3 separate regions of the Homo sapiens genome follow, and all the other regions are linked to region 2. Evidence: promoter capture Hi-C in 16 types of primary human blood cells and fetal thymus (Javierre and others, 2016). All regions are on one chromosome and are shown on one strand. The core of a region is centred on a gene start or on the middle of the fragment in contact, and the rest is flanking DNA. Distances in the headings are between cores, read along the strand shown.

Region 1 (4,606 bases), core at 231-2,730, 160 kb after region 2:
AGCTGGGACTGCAGGCACTCACCACCATGGCCCAGCTAGTTTTTGTATTTTTAGTAGAGATGGGATTTCACCACGTTGGCCAGGCTGGTCTCGAACTCCAGGACTCAAGTGATCTGCCTGCCTTGGCCTCCCAAAGTGCTGGGATTACAGGCATGACCCACCGCGCCCGGCCTGGACTTTCTTTTAAAAGCGGCTAGAGGGCCAGGCGTGGTGGCTCAAGCCTGTAATCCCAGCACTTTGGGAGGCCGAGGTGGGGGGGTGGGGGTGGGGTGGATCACCTGAGGTCAGGAGTTCGAGACCAGCCTGACAAACATGGTGAAACCCCGTCTCTACTAAAAATACAAAAATTAGCCAGGAGTGGTGGCAGGCGCCTGTAATTCCAGCTACTCGGGAGGCTGAGGCAGGATAATCGCTCGAACCCGGGAGGTGGAGGTTGCAGTGAGCCAAGACTGTGCCATTGAACTACAGCCTGGGCAACAAGAGCGAAACTCCTTCTCAAAAAAAAAAAAAAAAAAAAAAAGTGGTTAGAGTACTAGCCAGGGGGAAGCAAGCACATTTGAAAAATATAGTGTGTATGCTTTAGGATAGGGAGGAATGGAGAGAGAGAGGAGGACATGGACCGGGGTGGAAAAATGTGGGGTTTCGCATTGATTTTTGGTGTGAGCTTGAACAAGTTTTGTACTAAAAAAAATGCCTGTTTTACTACTAAAATAAGTGCTTCCTTTGGAGAGTGAGGATCCTCTGTTACTGAGGTTTGTATTTTCAGGCCCTAGCATATAAATCTGCTACATACGAGATATTCAACTGGTTTTGGAGGAATGAAGGTGAACATGGCAGTTTCCTCATCTGTAAAAGCAGGGTTTGGACGAAATGATCTGCAAAATGGGTCTTTTTGTACTCTTACTACTCTAGTATTTACGAGTAACCGATGTTATTCCTTATAAAGTCTCAACTCCTGGTTTGAGCCATGTCTGACGAGGGGGCCTAACTCCAATACCACCCTGAACACTCTGGGGTCAGTGGGACCCTGTTTGTACAGACGTCTGCGTCTTCCGGCTCTTTAGGACATAAGCAGTACTGCTATGGAAGAAAGGAAACCTAATTTCCCATGCCTTGTCCCTTTCTGGAAAGGGCATGGCGTGGTGTGGGCACCACACCTGCCCCAGCCTTCTAGCAAGAAAACAACACAACCTTCCCCGCTCCCCGAAAAGAGCTTCTCTCCAGTTGGGTCTAGATGCCCCCTTCCCAACCAGGGCGGATGGCCAAAGGCTCCGCTCCCTTGCAGGGTAGGCTTGGAAAGGCACGGGGCCCGCCTTCCTGGGCACCGGAGCCTGTGACGGGCGGAGGGCGTGCGGCGCGCTGGGTTAGTTACCTGGCGCTGGGCGGGGCAAGCGGGAGGCGGGGGCGGGGCCGGGGTGACATCTCAGGCTGTGATTGGGCCGCGCCGCGCCTGTCTCCATGTGCCGCGCAGCTGAGGCACAACATTCAAGCCCGGGGGTGGGGCCGGCGCGCGCCGGGAGGAAGCGGCCGCGCGGCAGCTGCGGGGCGTGGGGGTGGTGGTGGCGGCGGCGGTGGTGGCGGCGGCGGCGGCGGCGGCAGCTGAGGCCGAGGAGGCGGTGGCTGTGGCGGACGCAGCAGCACCCCAGCTAGGGACAGGGCTCCGCCGCGCCCCCTTGCTGGCCCCATGGAGGCGGCAGCGGCGGCGGCGGCGGCGGCAGCGGCAGCGGCAGCGGCGGGCGGGGGCTGTGGCTCCGGGCCGCCGCCGCTGCTGCTGAGCGAGGGCGAGCAGCAGTGCTACTCCGAGCTCTTCGCGCGCTGTGCCGGCGCCGCGGGCGGGGGCCCCGGGTCTGGGCCCCCCGAGGCCGCCAGAGTCGCCCCCGGCACGGCCACTGCGGCCGCCGGCCCCGTGGCTGACCTGTTTCGGGCATCGCAGCTGCCCGCCGAGACGCTGCACCAGGTGGGTCCCTCCGCCTCCTGTCCCTGCGGGTCTGTGGGGCAGTGTGTGCGGGGGCGGAGGTTGCGAGTGGGGCGACAGGGCTGCCCCCAGGGACCCGGAGGCCTCGGCCAGTTCTGAGAGAGAGGACTCTGCAGCCGGGGATGGCGGCGACGCCCTTGTCCCCGGGGGACACCAGCCTCCTTCGCAGCTCAGCTCCTCGCCCAGTGCTGGGTGCGCTCTCCCCATCTTCCTTCCCTGAGACAGTCTGACACTCTCTCCCCTCCCCCGGCCATTTCTGGGGTTCTGCAGCCGCCCAGACCCAAAGTTTGTCCTGTTCTGGAAGTGGTGTTTGTTTTGGCTGCTGCCTGGTTTAACCTCTGCTCGCTGCTCCTGCCCCTCCCTCTCCTGAGTGGGTTCTCAGGGTGCCTTGCTGGGATTTCAACTTGAAGGGTGTGTGTGTCCGTAGGGTTCGAGGCCCAGGGCTGAATGTTGTCCTCTCTATGTAGTTGTAATATATAAGTATCTACTATATGTAATTGCCCATAACATATTTCTAAATATTAATATTAAATCGAAAACCTTAATGACAAGTTGCAGAACAGGGACACGGGACTGCAAGAGGACGTTTGTCAAGTCAAAACCAAATTTCCCATTTGAGATTAGAGGTGGACTTCAGAAGTCCACCATGGGAAACAGCTGTAGTTTCCCATCTATCATTACTTGGACTTGAAATAGAATTGAAAGGTAAGGGATGTCATAGCTACCACCTTTTGGCTGTTCTATACTTGGAAAAGTACTAGGGGATGATACATACCAGACGCTGTTTTTGTTTTGTGCTTTCCTTGGAGCTTGGAGAAAGACTACTTGATAAGCCTTTGTCTGTCATTTCATGTCACCAGCACTTCATGGTGATAAGACTGTTAATATCAGGTTCAAAACGTGAAATGAAGCTTTTCCTAAAAGCAATAGTATGAATGTTATTAACACCAATGGAATATTTAGAGTGGCGAGTGGTATTTTAAAATCTAGTTTCAAAGGAGAACTGAGGGTTTTATGGTTCACTTGCAATGTCATTGTGTTCATACGTATTTTTAAAAAAATTGCTTAAGACTGCGTTTTATACTGCTGGAGTGTTTTTACTGCTATATGTTTGTGAGCATAACTTTAGACACTTTGTAATCTTTCACCCTTTTGAATTTGGGATTTCTGAAACTGTAACTAGTATTCACAGAACTTAGCATGGCTGTTTATCCCTAAAGAAGTCCTTGATATGTAGACAGTTCTGCCATTGCTGATGAGTAGTTGAGCTGGATCAGGTAAAGAGAAAGTCAGTGTCTTAAAACACAAACCGTGGCTATTACATGAGGCCCTCAGAATAGTCCCGAGCATAATACATTTATTCAGTGCTGTAGCTGCTTCCCAGCTGAAAGAGGAATAATTGACTGAGGCTATGCAGCAAGTAAGTGACAGCTGGGTACCTATTAAGGCTTATTTTGTTGTCAGTAATGCATCGGATAAGAGGAGGTGGGCATAGTAAATCTGAATATGTTGGTTGATGCCTCTTTAGGAATTGGGAAGAAGGATTTCCTGATGTTAGAACCCATGCTTTCTTGAGGTACATATAGTTTTAAAAGGACCCAAGGCACAGTGGCTGTGCGTGAATGAGATTATATTTTTGATGTCCAGTTGAAATCTGCTTGCAAAAGACTGCTTCAGATACTGGCAAAAGGGGACATCCCTGCGAGATTGCTTGGAGTAAATCTCTCAGAGCTCGAAGCTCCCTTATTCAGCCTAGCAAAGCAAAACACATCATCCACCTTTAATCCAACAAAATTACCATAACTCAATATTCTTGGTACAGGTGAAAATGAACATTGAAGGCATCCTGGACATGTGATCCTAAGAGAGTCAAACAAAGTCAGCAACCAGCAGACACCTAATTTTCACCCATCACTTTGGTGGTGGTGGTGGTGGTGGTGGTGGTGGTGGTGTGTGTATGCTCCATCCACTTTAATTTGCATTACCCCATCAGTGTATTAGCCATTCTTTAAAACAAACGTAGATGTTTTTACCCTTTCTCTGTTAAACAGGAACCTGTAAGTTGAGATTTAAGTGCCCCAACAGGTATAACTGCTCAAATCTTGGAGGCACTAACCAGTCCTGATATTTTCTATGGTAACAACCAGGTTTTCCTCTTAATAAGCATACAATTAAGATTACCATAATAATGTTCCAGGAAGAGTGAGAATCTTGCATTCTTACCACAAGTAAATGGTCTATAAAAATACTTATTTTTTATTTATTTATTTTTTGAGATGGAGTCTCGTTCTGTTGCCCAGGCTGGAGTGCGGTGGCGTGATCTTGGCTCACTGCAACCTCTGCCTCCCGGGTTCAAGCGATTCTTCCGCCTCAGCCTCCTGAGTAGCTGGGACTACAGGCGCACGCCACCTCTCCCGGCTAATTTTTGCATTTTTAGTAGAGACGGCGTTTTGCCATGTTGGCCAGGCTGGTCTCGAACTCCTGACTTCAGGTGATCCACCCGCCTCAGCCTCCCAAAGTGCTGGGATTACAGGCGTGAGCCACCATGCCTGGCCTTAACATATTTTTTAATAGACTATTTTTTTTTTTCAGAGCAGTTTTAGGTTCACAGCAAAATTTAGCAGAGTACCC
Region 2 (4,094 bases), core at 321-2,820:
ACCCAGGCTGGAGTGTTCAATGGCACGATCTTGGCTCACTGCAACCTCTGCTGCCCGGGTTCAAGCGATTCTCCTGTCTCAGATCCCAAATAGCTGGAATTACAGAAGCCCACCACCGGCTGGGGGCGGTTGCTCACACCTGTAATCCCAGCACTTTGGGAGGCCGAGGAGGGCAGATCAGGGGGTCAGAAGTTCAAGACCAGCCTGGCCAACATGGTGAAACCCCTCTCTCTACTAAAAATACAAAAATTAGCCCAGCGTGGTGGCACGTGCCTGCAATCCCAGCTACTCGGGAGGCTGAGGCAGGAGAATTGCTTGAACCTGGGAGGCGGAGGTTGCAGTGAGCTGAGATCGTGCCACTGCACTCCAGCTTTGGGTGACAGCAAGACTCCGTCTTGGGAAAACAAAAACAAAGAAAAAAGAAAAGCCCACCACCACCACCATGCCCGGCTAATTTTTGTATTTTTAGTAGAGACGGAGTTTCACTGTGTTGGCCAGGCTGGTCTGGAACTCCTGACCTTGTGATCCACCCGCCTCGGTCCCCCAAGGTGTTGGCATTACAGGCGTGAGCCACCGCGCCCGGCCTCATAATGAATTATTTAAGACAATATATCAGGATTTCATGATGGTCTGTGCCTTTCAGAAGCTCGGCCATTGGAGATCTGGTTCCATCAGATGGAAATAGGGAATATTCCTGAGGAAATCTCCCCTCTCCCCCCCAACATCATATCAATAAAAAAAAAAATTCGGTTCAGCAAACCGAGTTTGTTGAAAAAATTTAGGTAATGAAACGAGTAAATGGGGTGGGAGAAAGCAGGATACATTCAACATGAATGAAGTGCCAAGTAAGTGTGCAGAAGCCGGGGCGGTTCAACCAAGGTGAATAGAATGCGGCACCTATCCCGCGGGAGCTCGGGACAAGTAAACCGTGGTAACAACTCTGGTGGAGGGGCAGGGCTCGGGGCAGGTGCCCGAGCACGAAACTTCAAATTCTAAGAGCCAATACACCTTCCGTCTTGAAAGTCGTGAAGTATTTTCCCTTATCCCCAAATCATTCGCGCCCAATTCCTAAGAACGGCAACAAAAACAAAAACACAAGAATGTGTCGCCGATCGTGCTCCTTCTCAAACACGGGGATATTTCTAAACTTTCCGCGAAAGATCATAACGAGTACCTTCCTATAGCCAGACATCGCCCCCAGAAACCGCAAGTCCCACTAGGATGCACACGAAGCACACTGGGTGCAGCACTCTCCCCTTTTCAGAACGCCGCCTTATGTCCCAATCCCGATCCGAGCCTGCGAGCTGTGGCCGCACGCCCTGCTGGGACTTGTAGTCCACTCCCGAGTCCCATTCCCGATCCGCGCAGACTCACACGGCCTCTATCTGCCCTTCGGTCTTGCTGAAGCCCAGCCCAGTATTCAATGCTCCCCATCCCCATCTCGCTCCGTCCCCTCGGGGGCCAACCTCCTCCGGTCACGTGGGAAGTCTCACATGCGGCGATTGGTCGTGGGGGCTCGGGGGCGGGGCGAAAGGCCCTGCGAGATTCTGTGCCCCTTGTCGGGCCGCTTGTTTGGCTGCTGCCGTCACCTCATGGCGACGCGGGTAGAGGAGGCAGCGCGGGGAAGAGGCGGCGGCGCCGAAGAGGCGACTGAGGCCGGACGGGGCGGACGGCGACGCAGCCCGCGGCAGAAGGTCAGTCAGGGGGACGCCCTCGTTGTTGTCGGGCCCGGGGGATGTTTGGGCTCCCTTTTTCAGGGTCCACCTCTTCTCTCTCCCTGGTTACCTATAGCCACGGGACGAACATCCGGTCTTCTTCCCTCCCGGGGGTGACGACAGTGGGAGCAGGTGGGGGGGGGTGGGACCGCGATGGATGGGGTGGGAAGGGACGACGGTTGGGGTTTGGCGGCGCGCGGCGGGGAAGCCGGGAGGGAGGGCAGGGGGCGCACGCGGTTCTAAGGGAGAAGGGGTGCGAGGCGGGGGTGCGCCAGGTGTGACAGCCACGTGCGGCCAGCACCGCGGGGATCCGGGCGCCAGGCGTTCCTTCTCCCAGTCACCGCCGTCACCGTGCTCCCGGCGCTGAGCGCCGCCGTCCGGGGGCTCGCTGGGGTCGTGGGCTCGCCCTCCTGGCGTCGGGCAGGTGCGCAGGGCGCGCTGCGGGGTGCCCCCGGGCTGCTCAGGCTAGGCTGTTGCGCAGTAAGATAACCGCGCGGGAGCCGGGGTGTGCTTGGCCCCCCTTCCCCCGCCCCCCTGCGCTCCCCGCCACTGCGCGGGCGGGCAGGCGAGCGGGTGAGTGTCGCAGGGCCGGTGCGAGCGGGACGCTCGGCCCCCGGGACCTAGACCCCGGGGCTCCGAGGGCTTGGCTGCACGTGGGGCCGGGGATGGATGGGGAGGCGATGCTGGAGGACCTCGGTCCTGCAGAGTTGGGATATCGCATGATAGCTGGTCCTCCCAGTCCTATTTACCACCCTCCTCTTTTTTCCCCTCTTTTTTTTCTTTCATTTATTATTTTTTTAATTTGATGAGTGGAAACTTGAATGCCTTCCCGACCCTGGCCTTGGGTCTTTCTTAATCTGGGAAACAGGCCGGACTGTTCCCCTTGCCTTACTTGACTCACGTCAAGGAGTTTTCAGTCCCTCCCTAGATACAGGAAAATTGAGACCTCTTTCAGAACGGGACAATTCCACTTGTTCTGGAGCTCAGTGGGTGGAGTTTGAAAAAGATTGCACAACGAACGGGGTACAGGGTTTTCGGGGCCCTGGAATGGATAATTGCGGGGACTGAGACTGGGAAGGTGGGAACCCCATCTCTTTTTTTCCTTGCAGGTGAACATACTGAAACGTTCGACTTGTTGGATATCTTGCTTGATCACCGAGGGCTATTTAATATTACTTAATTATGTATTTGAACACTCTTAACTCCTGTATGAAATTACGAAATAATATTTTTCTAATGCAATTCATAAACTTCAAATGGGAGAACAAAGGTCCAGTTTACGTCTGAGCAGAGTGTTAAGAATTAGCTTTTTGGGGCCTGTTTCTAAGGTCAGGTATTTTCATGTTTCTGCATGACAGTGTTACTACTTCTCAATTACCTCTCTTTCTTTCTCTCCCTCTCTTTGTATTCTAAAAGAAAGATCCAGTGCTTGCAGGACTGAAAAAGAAGCTGTGGACCAATGTCCTGTAAGGGATTCAACACCATCACTTTGGACACTTCACTTATTCCCTAAGGGTGGAGTGCCAATCTCAGTGTTTGATTTCGTAGGTTCCCCAGGGGAGGAGGACTCTGATAAAAAGCCACTGCAATTGAGGATATAAGTTCCCTTTTATGACACTGGGATAAGGACAAAAAGTCGTTGAATTAGGAACTGAGGTTTAATCAACTAGCATTTAAAATAACCAAGATAGGAGGTAATGACCCTTTGAGGTGCAGAGCTCTGGTTAACAGCTGGATAGGAATAGTCATGTGTGTGTCTACTCATTTTTGTTTATGTACCTCATACTCCATTCTTCTTTGCTTATGCTCTTCTGAGCATCTTTTTCTTTTTGATTTCTAACTGACAGTGACGGCATTCAAATACATGGTAAAATATTAATCTTTGAATTTTCATTTAACAAATTGGGTGAATTATCTTGTGTTTGCAAGAATCATTTTTAAGCCAGCTATGGTGGCATGCACCTGTAGTACCACCTAGTCAGGAGACTGAAGCAGGAGGCTAGCCTGGGCCGCAGAGTGAGACCCTGTCTCTTAAAAAAACAAACAAACTTGTTGTGTTTTTTTTTTTTTTTTTTGAGTCAGAGTCTTGCTCTGTTACCCAGGCTGCAGTGCAGTGATGCAATCTTGGCTCACTGCATCTTCCACCTCGTGGGTTCCAGCGATTCTCGTGCCTCAGCCTCCTGAGTAGCTGGGATTACAGATGTGTGCTACCACGCCCAGCTAATTTTTATATTTTTAGTAGAAACAGGGTTTCACCATGTTGGCCAGGCTGGTCTTGAACTCCTGGCCTCAGGTAAGCCACCCACCTTGGCCTTCCAAAGTGGCGGGATTACAGGCATGAGCCACTGCAACTGGCCAAAAATTTTTTTAAAAATCATT
Region 3 (4,639 bases), core at 1,590-4,089, 250 kb after region 2:
GATTCTCCTGCCTCAGCCTCCCGAGTAGCTGGGATTACAGGCATTCTCCACCATGCCCAGCTAATTTTGTATTTTTATTAGAGACGGGGTTTCTCCATGTTGGTCAGGCTGGTCTTGAACTCCTGACCTCAGGTGATCTGCCCGCCTCGGACTCCCAAAGTGGTGCAATATATTTTTACCTGAATTTAGGGAGACATGTTTGGCAAATGAATATATTCTTCCAGCTAGATTGCACTAGAAAAAATTATCTTTTATTTAAAACCAAAACACATTCACTTTTCAAACCCTCAGGATACTGTTGTGATGTTTTCTTTGCTTTTTGGAGGGATGAAAGTAACAGTTTTCTAGAACATATTCTCAACACTCACTACTCTTCTTCAGAGATGAAAAAATGACAAACAGAATTTAGATACCTCTATTACTCTACCATTCCTCAGGGGGCTTAGCTATATTTTTGGTGTAAGTTTTCTAATGATCAGGTAGGGGAGGGGATGTTAGGCATTGTTAGCCAGCACCATATTCATCTCGAAGTGCATAACTTGAAAAATGTTTATTTAACTTAGTTATCTCCTTTCCTCCTCATCTCAGTTTCTTGCCGTACCTCCTCCCCTAGATATAACTGCAGGTACTTACGGCCAGAAGCAGGTGATCTCCACTCCTTGGGTCCTCTTGGAACCCAAGAGAAAAGGCAAGTATATGAAAGATGATTAAAGAAATGAATATTCCTGAGGCTCTGTCAGAGTGGTGTTGGCCTGAGTCAAAAGATAATTGATAGTCACCACAAATAAATTGTTCATTCTAAGAGCTTTGATGAAAACAGCAGGAAATAGCCTTTGGGGGAGGCTGATATTGCACCGAGAGATCTTCTTGTGGCATGAAAGATATTTTATGGGTAGACTGGACCAGGATGCAAGCAGGATAAGGAGAGCGGAGGAGTGAGAATGACTGATGGTTTGGGATGGGATTGAGTGAGGTGGGTTAGAGTTGAGTCATGAGAGAGTTGGTCATCTGAGTTTGGAAGAAGAGTGAAGCAGGTAAACAAGCGGGGCATACTGGGTACTGTCTTGGCTACTCTGGTTGTCTAACCTAATACTCAGCCCAGGGAATTGACCCACAGAGCAGGTCAGGCCCGCCCGGATTCTTTTGGGGTTCAAGAATTATTTACCAAGGCATTACTTGGTAAGTAAGTGTTCATACGAACGTGTGTGAGCTCTCAAACACACTTGTTCTTCAGAGCAAATACAGATTTTAAAAATATGTCAAACATTCAACAGATACAAAAGGGCACAGTGAAAACTGTCCCTACCATTTCCCCGCACAGCCACTCATCCCAGGGGCAACTGATATGACCCATTTATTTTGTATAGTACTATACAAAACATTTATATAATATTGTATATGAATATCTTTTTTATATACAAGTGAAAATAGGTATTATATATAATTACATGTAATATATGCAAAACACAGTTATGCTTTTTTACACATATGGTGGCATACTATACATCTAACATGCATTTAGCACTAACAATAAGCTTTATTAACGTTCTATAGCAGCACATAAAGTACTTCCTCATCTTTTTGTTTTTTACAGATGCATAGTATTTCCTTGTCTGCGTCTTGTGTAAATCATTTAGCCAGCCCCTTTTGATTGACATCTTGTACTTGCAATCACTGCGTTGTTTGCAGATATATGGGAGACCAATTCCTAGAAATTGAATTATTGGGTGAAAATGCCTATATATTTGTAATTTTTGATAACGACTTTCAAATTGGAGGTATAGCAGCCTATGTACTTGCCAACAATATATGAAAATGTCTGTTTTCTCGTACCTTTGTGAAAACAATGTGCTAACAAATTTATGGGTCTTTGCCAATCTGATAGGTGAAAAATGATAGCTCACTGTAGTTTAATTAGCATATCTCTTTATTAGTGAAGTGAAATATCTTAAGTTTATGAGTCACTTGTATTTCCTTTTCTGTGAACTGTTGATTCATATCAAGTGCCCCTTTTTCTTTTGAGTATTGGTTTGTCATTCTTAATGGCATGAAACCAGAAGCTGGTCTGTCTTTTCCTTTGGACCAGAGATATACTGGAGTGTGTGTGGAAGATTTCTCCCTGAGTGGTGAGAGGAGATGCTGGCACCTGAGGCTCTCGAAGGAGGTTATGGACCCCAGCTGCTTCCCAGTTCTGGAGAACCCCAGGCCTGCCTGCAGTGCAGATTTCTTGTTTATAAGGTCATGACAGTAAAGTTGAATTACTTAGTTTATGGGTAGAGATTAGGGCTAAAAAAAAATCCTCTGTTGTTAGAGATGGTAAATGTCAACACTGTGTGTGTGCGTTGATCTCTCAGCATTGCTTAGACAGCTAAATTATGTTCCTTTCACTGAAATGGGTGGGAGGAGGAGATAGAGGTAGAGATAAAGATAGATAGAGGGAGAGAGTATAAGTGTGTGTGTGTGTGTGTGTTAGGAAGAGTGAGTTTGATGCCTTTTCTAGGTATGTATGTGCCTTATTCTTGAGATCTTCTTTCACCAAATTCATTCCTCGTTTCATTTGAGACCCCAGCTGGACGTTTATACCATCTCCTAAGGGGTCAAAGGTTAACATGTCCTCCAGGTGTCCTACTTCACTGAGTCTACTATAGAACCCACATATACCTGAACGGACACTATTGCCACAAGGAGGTCCTATTTTTTCATAGCCTCCAGTCTCCTGCTTACTTATTTTCTTCACCTGCTTGTAGTTCTCTTTCTGATTTTCTAGCCCTTAACTTTTGAGGAAGGATTTCTAGCTCTTAACTTTTGGGGAAGGAAACATTTAATCTCAACTGATACTGAAGTTTATTTTCTCAGTGCCAATCTTTTCTACTTGTTTCTTTTTTCTTTTTTCCTTTTCTTTTCATTGATTGATTGATTGATTGATTGAGATGGAGTCTCGCTCTGTTGCCCAGGCTGGAGTGCAGTGGCGCGATCTTGGCTGACTACAACCTCTGCCTCCCAGGCTCCAGCAATTCTCCTGCCTCAGCTTCCTGAGTAGCTGGGACTACAGGCGTGCGCCACTGCGCCTGGCTATTTTTTGTATATATTTCTTTTAGTAGAGACGGGGTTTCACCATGTTGGCCAGGGTGGTCTTGAACTCCTGACCTCAAGTGATTCACCCGCCTTGGCCTCCCAAAGTACTAGGATTACAGGCGTGAGCCACCATGCCCGGCCTCTACCTGTTTCTTAGTGTATTCCTCAGGTGCTCACTGTGTACCACACTTCTTGACAATAAAAGAGATGTTTAGTTAATTTAGCCTCCCAGAGGTAGCTGAAAACACTGGTTTGAACTGCTGGTTCCAGGCAGTACTTTGTAAATCTGGAAAGGATAGTAGCTTATTCCCCAGGACCTTTTGGTCTCAGTTATATGCCAGGCTATGGATATGGAAGACTTCTTTACAACTGGCACCATTTTAGCCCCTGGGCCCATCAGTCTTTCCCTTGATCTCAGGCGAGCAGGGAGTGTCATGCCCCCCCAGTTGCCTATCCCAACAATAGTCACTACTGACTGAGGTGCTTCTTTGGTCCCAGTGCTGTGCTGGCCCTTTTCAGTCCTCCCAACAATCTCACAAGGTAGGTATTATTACATCTTCCATTTGTCCATTTGGAAATACTTAAGTGGCTTCCATGAGTCAGCCACCATGCCAGGGGTACACTGAGGAGTACACCTATAGCCTCTTGCTCTCTAGGTGCTTGCAGTCAAAAGGAGGAGATAGATTTGAATCAAATGATCCCACCTATGCATGTGGAATTAAAAACTGACAATTGCCCTAAAGGCCTTAAAACATGGTACCATGTAGCAAAGGAATCCAGCCTATAGCTAGAAAGTGAGAGAAGGCTCCTTTAACAAAGTATGTGTTGAGCTGAGCTGTGAAGGATGAATAGAAGTTAACCAGGCTAAGGAAGGATGGTCCTGGGAGGTGAGGAGAGGAGTGGAGTGTTTCCTGTAGAGGTAAGAGCCTCTCCAAAACCGCACAGCAGAGCTGGGCTGCTGAGAGAGCTTTGCTTCTGTCACAATCAGAAAGCTACAGCATTGGGAAACTGCTGCCCTAGTGTCAGCTCCAACCAGATCCACACTACAAACTACCTTGGCAGCCAAATGAAAGCTTTGTTCCCTGCCTGTAACTTGGGTCTGCATCCGTCTTCCGTGGGTGTATTTGTTGAGTGGAACCTAAGTCCTATTTGGAATTCTAGCAGCAAAGGTGTTTTGACAGTGGAGTTTTTAGCTAGCCAGCTTGTGCAGTGCTGGGACTTATGCTGACGGGTGGAATGGACTCGTGACCCAGTCTCTACCATATTTCACAGGGAGAGCAGATACATTTGAAGAACTGAAAGAAGGCAGCTGTGGCTAGAGCCTGGAGTGGGAGGGAGATGAGGTCGGAGAGGGAGGCAGGGCCCTGTGGGCTATGTGACTGCCTTGCAGGTGGGAGCTGATGGCTCAGAAGTTAATTTACTGGTTAGTAAGTGACCATGCCAAATTGGAACCCAAGTCTGTCTGCCTCTGGAACCTGTACTCTTTTTGCACCTCCAGTCAGTAGCCTCATTCTCCAAAGCATTCTTGAATTCTGTCCAAGTTGTGGATGCATCTGTTTCCCAT

Evidence for each region. The method cuts DNA at HindIII sites, captures the fragments that hold promoters and counts their contacts. A CHiCAGO score of 5 or more calls a contact.
Region 1: a contact is called between the fragment with the promoter of REPS2 here and the fragment with the promoter of TXLNG in region 2, in 1 of 17 cell types (total B cells). The highest score is 5.2, in total B cells.
Region 3: a fragment that was not itself captured here is called in contact with the fragment with the promoter of TXLNG in region 2 in 1 of 17 cell types (total B cells); the score reaches 5.1 in total B cells.

The regions. Positions count from the first base shown.
Region 1 is chrX:16,945,178-16,949,783 of GRCh38, forward strand. REPS2 (RALBP1 associated Eps domain containing 2) reads left to right here and starts at 1,481. Exons shown (of 18, transcript NM_004726.3): 1 at 1,481-1,957. The coding sequence starts at 1,685. The HindIII fragment of the contact is 5,688 bases long and covers 1-2,884 here.
Region 2 is chrX:16,784,896-16,788,989 of GRCh38, forward strand. It overlaps TXLNG (taxilin gamma), which reads left to right and starts at 1,571. Exons shown (of 10, transcript NM_018360.3): 1 at 1,571-1,694. The coding sequence starts at 1,593. LOC124905250 (a long non-coding RNA gene) reads right to left here and starts at 1,371. Exons shown (of 2, transcript XR_007068398.1): 1 at 1,175-1,371; 2 at 765-1,068. RefSeq lists enhancers at 967-1,166, 1,138-1,870, 3,913-4,094 and a silencer at 1,917-2,356. The HindIII fragment of the contact is 8,203 bases long and covers 1-4,094 here.
Region 3 is chrX:17,034,400-17,039,038 of GRCh38, forward strand. All of the region lies in intron 5 of REPS2 (RALBP1 associated Eps domain containing 2), which reads left to right. Among named protein-coding and RNA genes, the nearest start is that of REPS2, 90 kb to the left of the region's middle. The HindIII fragment of the contact is 2,613 bases long and covers 1,534-4,146 here.